2 separate regions of the Homo sapiens genome follow, and region 1 is linked to region 2. Evidence: promoter capture Hi-C in 16 types of primary human blood cells and fetal thymus (Javierre and others, 2016). All regions are on one chromosome and are shown on one strand. The core of a region is centred on a gene start or on the middle of the fragment in contact, and the rest is flanking DNA. Distances in the headings are between cores, read along the strand shown.

Region 1 (2,733 bases), core at 11-2,510, 63 kb before region 2:
AAACTCATCTGGTCTGGTGCTTTCTGTTTTAGAGAGTTATTAATTAGTGATGTAATTTCTTTAATAAAGGAATATATAGATTATCTTTTTCCTTTTGTGCTAGCTGTATAGATTGTAACTTTCAAGGAATTTTTAAAATTAAATCTAAATCATCAAATTTTTAAGTGTGCAGTTATTAATAATATTCATTTACTGCCCTTTTAATGTTCATTGGAGTCAGTAATGATGGAGCGTTTATCATTTCAGAGGTTAATACTAATTTGTATTTCCTCTATTTTTTCTTGATTAGCCTAGCTAGAGGTTTATCAATTTTATTGATCTTCTGAAAGAACCAGCTTTTGATTTTATTATTTTTCTTTACTGTTTTCTTGTTTCAATTTCATTGAATTCTACTCTAAATTTTACTTTTTTCTTCTCTTTGCTTTCAGTTTATGTTGTTTTTCTTTCTACAGTATCCTGAAAAGGAAGCTTATACCATTCATTTTAGGTTTTTCTTTTTTTCTAATATACGAATTCAATGCTATAAGTTTTGTGTTAATCATTGCTATCACTGAATCTCACATATTTTAATAAGTTGTGTTTTCATTTTCATTCAGTTCAAAATATTTTTAAAATTTCTCTTGAGACTTCTTCGACCAATCTGCTATTTAGAAGTTTATTGTTTAATTTATAATTCTAAAAAATTTTCTAGCTATCTTTCAGTTACTTTTTCTAGTTTAATTCCATTGTGATATGATTTGCGTTTGTTTGGTTGGTTGCCCAAAATATGAACCCAAAGGAGGCTCAAAGTGAGTGAATTGGAAATTGTCCACCTGCTTCGGCTCAATGTAGAGAAAAGTATTTAAAGGCTTAGAGAGTCTGGAATATTAGAGTAGATTTGTCTACTCTAATATTAAGACTTAATTATTCACACTGGGACGGTCCAGGAGATGTACCTTTCACCAAAACTGAGAAAAAATAAATCGATTACAGGAAGTCCCAGGATCCCTGAAGAATTTTGATCACTCTTCTCTGTAGGCCAGATCTTACAGAGGATAATGCAGTAACTGAATTGGGAAACTTAGATGCAATGGAAGTAATTGGATAGCAGTGTGGCAGGAGGCAAGTGGCAGCACCAAACTGCCAAAGGCAAGGTAGGTATGTTTAACATAATAAAGAACACGACTACCCTGCCCCTACCTGAACACTTACTTTGGAGGTGGCTCTGCAGTTCTGTGAGGAGGAAATCTCAGAGACTACCCACAACCATTTCACCATTGCAACTGCAGTAGTGCCACCCTGATGCCGTAGGGCTGTGGAAGGAACAAAGGGACTAGTCACTAACTTGACACATCCAGCACACCACAGTCACCACACAGAAACAAATCCAGTCCCTCTTCTCTGTGAGCCCCCATCTCCCACTCATCAACAGACAGCGCCCCTGGCTCAGGAATACAGATCAGCCATCTAACCCACGGCTGAGCACAACCACTGGTAGTGGCTTTGGGTTTCCCTGGGAAGGGGCTCCCACAGGTAACTGACAGCCCCTCTGCCACTGCAACAGCAGTGATTCTGCCCCTGCTGCCCTTGGTCAGGTGAGGAAATAAAGATCCTGAAGACCTCACCCACACACCACACACCCAGTCACCATATAAAGAGGAACTCAGTTTCACCTCCCTGTAAGCCACTGAACCCCTGCTCCTCAACAAGCAGAGCCATCAGCTCAGGCCAGCAGTGTGGCCACCACAACCCTTGGCTGAACATTCGCAGTAGTGGCAACTCCAAGTTTCTCTGAGGTGTAGCCCCCAGAGGCAACTGAAAGCCCCTTTCCCACTGCCACTGCAGGTGTACTGTCCTTGCTGCCCTCGGAATAGAGAAGGGTCGAGGACTCTGGATAGGTTAACAGCACCTCCAGAAAGCTGCAGTTGTCTTAAGAGGCCAGTCTGTCTCCCCAGTGACCCACCCAAACCCCTGCTCATTACCAGTCAGGGCTCCCTGGTTTGGGCTCACAGAACAGCTGCCCCATTCCAGCCTGACTGAACTGATTGATAGCAGCCCTGCATCTTTGTCATGTGAAGCTTCCAGAGACAAGTGAAAGGCCCACTGCCATAACCATCGCTAAGTTCCCTTCCCCTGCTGCCTCCATGCTGAAGAGGAAATATAAATCCCGAGCTTGCTTCCAGACCTGTGGTATGCTGCCTTGGAGTGCCAAGCCAACATCTGCAGCCAGCACTCAAGAGGGAGAAGATTCCACACTTTCAAAGCACTGAGAGGGAGAATGACTGAAATCATGAGGAAACACAGAGGACCCCGTGGATGAGCAAGAAGCTACCTACTTGCCATTACACATAAGCACCAACTATTGGATCACAGATCAAAACTTCAGCACCAAAAGCACTTTCCTAATATAGGCCCTGTGAAACAAGGACAAAAATTCAGCTAAAATTAAAGACCCCACACAAAGCCTTCACCCTCTGAAAACATCCAGAAAATAAGTCTACTGGCTGTACTCAAATTACACCAAAGGTAAAAGAACAACAGCCTACATAGATGACAAAGAACCAGAAAAAGAAATCTGGCACCTGAAAAAGCCACAGTGGTTTCTTTCCACTAAATTAGTGCACTAGTTCCCTAGCAAGGGTTCTTAAATGGGCTGAAATGGCTGAAAAAAAAAAAAGAACTAGAATACACAATATGGATAGGAACAAAAATCACTGAGATTCAGGAGAAAGTTGACACCCTATCCAAGGAATC
Region 2 (3,084 bases), core at 496-2,995:
ATTTAGTTGGTTACAGGAACAGATGAAAATATTGATTTGAATCAATGATGAGATTGTGGAAATTGGATTTATGTTGTTATTTTACTATTTTCAATAAGGCAGTTTTAAAAATGAGAAAAGTCCAAAACAGACTAGAATTCTAACCCATTGTTAATTACGCATAAAAGAAAATATGTTTATAAAAATATATTCAAAATGCAATAAACTAGGCAGATGTTCACAAGTGTTTCCACATGTTGGTCACTCTGGTCACACTGTAAAACCCATTTATTAGTCTATAATATCATTGTTCATATTTGCCTTTTCTCAAAATCTCCATGTCTTAGTTAACCAAGAACACTAGAAAGCAAGCAAAAAAAAAAAATAGTAAAGAAAATTACTAAGTTTTTGAGTAAATAATGAGGTTTAATGTCAACTCTACAGTCTAATAGACACTATAAAATGTATAAAGTGAATGAATACGTTAATTTAGCCTCTTATTCTGAGGACTTATTAGGAAAACACCCACTAAGGTAATGTCCTTCTCTTGCAATCTTTTTTTCCCAGGATCTTTTCCAGCCTAAGAGTAGTGATAGATGTTTTGTTTGGATTTTTCTGGAGGGGTAGGAATTGTGGAAGGAGCCTCTTGAAGTGTTGTTTGCGCATGCTAGATATCAGTGAATTTCTGAAAACACGGTCAAAATTTCTCTCCAAAAGGGTTTCTCAAATACTCTGAAGAGAGATATTGTTGAGAAACTGCTGAGTTGAGTCCAGTCTGATGGCACTGTTTCCTTCAAGGGTTTCAAGTTGACAACTCATGATGAAATTCATAATTGTGTAAAGTGCATATATCTTAACATGTTTATTTCATCTGTAAATATTAATTACATATTTTGTATTGATTCTGTGGCTTTTATCTCTTTAACTGAGATTTTGTAACTGTAATTCTCGCGGCAGCTCAACAGTTTCAACGTTTTGTGGCACTAAACACCATCAAAAGCCATTATATGGCTCTCCAATCATTAAAACCTTAGTATTATGGGATCAGAGAAAAGATCTCTTTGCCTACCACCTGAGGAAAATATTACCATTATGTTGGAGATTAATGAAGTAAGGCTAAAGGCCAAAGGCAACATGGTCCTGTGTTCTACTTGACCCTGTGATCCTTTAGCACTGGATTGGGAGGCCAGGACATTTGTAAACTTTGACTTTCCAATGCACTCAGGAAAGTATGCAACCTATCCTTTTCCCTAAGCTTAAATGATTTTGATAATTAGTTTTTTAAAACTTATTATTTTTGCCCAGGTCGTCATCTTCTTATGTGATTTTTAGATGTTCGGCTTAAATATAGTGTTTTAAATAATAAATAACATTTAAAATATAAGAAACATCTAAAAGCCATCTTAGATTTTTCTTTCTCTCCTTCTCTCTCTCTCTCTCATTCTCTCCCCTTCTCTCTCTCTCTCTCTCTCTCTCTCTCTCTCCCCCCTTCTCTCTCTCTCTTTTTTTTTAAATCTTGGTACAGAGGAAGCGGGAAGTTACTTAGCACGGTTCCGGGTTTCTCGCGCCCCGCCTGTCCCCCCTCCCTATCACTGCTACTGGCTCTTGGTCCCTCCGTTGGACTGTCCTGCGGAGAGAAACCCCAGCCCATCGGTCTGCGCTGGGACCGCCCGCCGCGCATCTGCCCTTCTTCGCTGACTCCGCCCCGCATCTGGCCAGACCCGCCTCGCGTCAGAGCTGACCCACTCACTGCGCGTTTGCCAGTCAGTCTCTCCGGACCTGCCTCGAGCCTCAGGCTGCTGAAATCACCGCGCCTCACTCGGTCCGTACCCAGTGGGCATCTTGGGTATCTGGGCGGTCTTCGATCCCCCGCGCGTGTGTCTGTCTGTCTGTCTCTGTGTCCTATCCGCTGCCTGCAGCCTGCCTGCCGGTCTTATCGCACCAAGTGTCTGGTGTACCCTTTCGCAGACGCTGAGTGCGGAGAGGCCTTAGCGAAAGGCTAGCCAGCCCGAGACTGGCCAGGCAGCCGGCGGAGGAATACGCGCTCGGTCCCTGCCCTTGTTGATATCATTTTAAACCAACAGGAGCTCTAGGCCTATATTTATGCAGAAAGCGGGTCGGGAGGCCTCTGTCTGCAATGCTAGTTGTGGGGAACCAGCCAGCTGCTTGGTGGCTTCTCACAATTTCACGGGGACAGGAAAATTACGTTTCTGGTACTGGCTTTTGAAACTGATTTTAAATCTGAACGGGTGACAATTTTAAGTCCCCGCAGGGAGAATAGATTCGTATTTGGGGCGCCTTTTTGTCTGATGTGTTTGTTCTGAGCCTGCTGACCAGCTGTTTCTGAACTTCATTTTCTCAGCCTCGACAGTGATTCTGAGTCTGCTTTTAGCTTCCTTTTGCCTGCCTTGGCTTTTTCTGTTCGTGAACAGCTGTTTGGCCCATAGCTTAGAGAAAGCAGCCTTTTTTCTCTTCAAAGAGAACCTCCTCCCAGTGCTCAGAGAGATGGGGAGCGGGGAGCCTAATCCTGCTGGCAAGAAAAAGAAGTATCTCAAGGCCGCTCTGTACGTGGGTGACTTGGACCCAGATGTCACCGAGGACATGCTCTATAAGAAGTTCAGGCCTGCTGGCCCTCTGCGATTCACCCGAATCTGCCGTGATCCGGTGACCCGCAGCCCCCTGGGCTATGGGTATGTTAACTTCCGCTTTCCCGCGGATGCAGAGTGGGCCTTGAACACCATGAATTTTGATTTGATTAATGGAAAACCATTCCGCCTTATGTGGTCTCAGCCAGATGACCGCTTAAGAAAGTCTGGAGTGGGAAATATATTCATCAAAAACCTGGACAAATCCATAGACAATAGGGCCCTGTTTTACTTATTTTCTGCTTTTGGGAACATTCTGTCCTGCAAAGTCGTATGCGATGACAACGGCTCTAAGGGTTATGCCTATGTTCACTTTGACAGCCTGGCCGCTGCCAATAGAGCCATCTGGCACATGAATGGAGTGCGGCTCAACAACCGCCAGGTGTATGTTGGCAGATTCAAATTCCCAGAAGAGCGGGCGGCTGAGGTCAGAACCAGGGATAGAGCAACTTTCACCAAT

Evidence for each region. The method cuts DNA at HindIII sites, captures the fragments that hold promoters and counts their contacts. A CHiCAGO score of 5 or more calls a contact.
Region 1: a contact is called between a fragment that was not itself captured here and the fragment with the promoter of PABPC5 in region 2, in 1 of 17 cell types (total CD4 T cells). The highest score is 6.8, in total CD4 T cells.

Annotation. Positions count from the first base shown.
Region 1 is chrX:91,370,616-91,373,348 of GRCh38, forward strand. No RefSeq gene overlaps it. Among named protein-coding and RNA genes, the nearest start is that of PABPC5, 63 kb to the right of the region's middle. The HindIII fragment of the contact is 1,589 bases long and covers 467-2,055 here.
Region 2 is chrX:91,433,094-91,436,177 of GRCh38, forward strand. PABPC5 (poly(A) binding protein cytoplasmic 5) reads left to right here and starts at 1,746. Exons shown (of 2, transcript NM_080832.3): 1 at 1,746-1,801; 2 at 2,342-3,084. The coding sequence starts at 2,485. It overlaps PABPC5-AS1 (PABPC5 antisense RNA 1), which reads right to left and starts at 1,906. Exons shown (of 4, transcript NR_110659.1): 1 at 1,810-1,906. The HindIII fragment of the contact is 4,445 bases long and covers 1,233-3,084 here.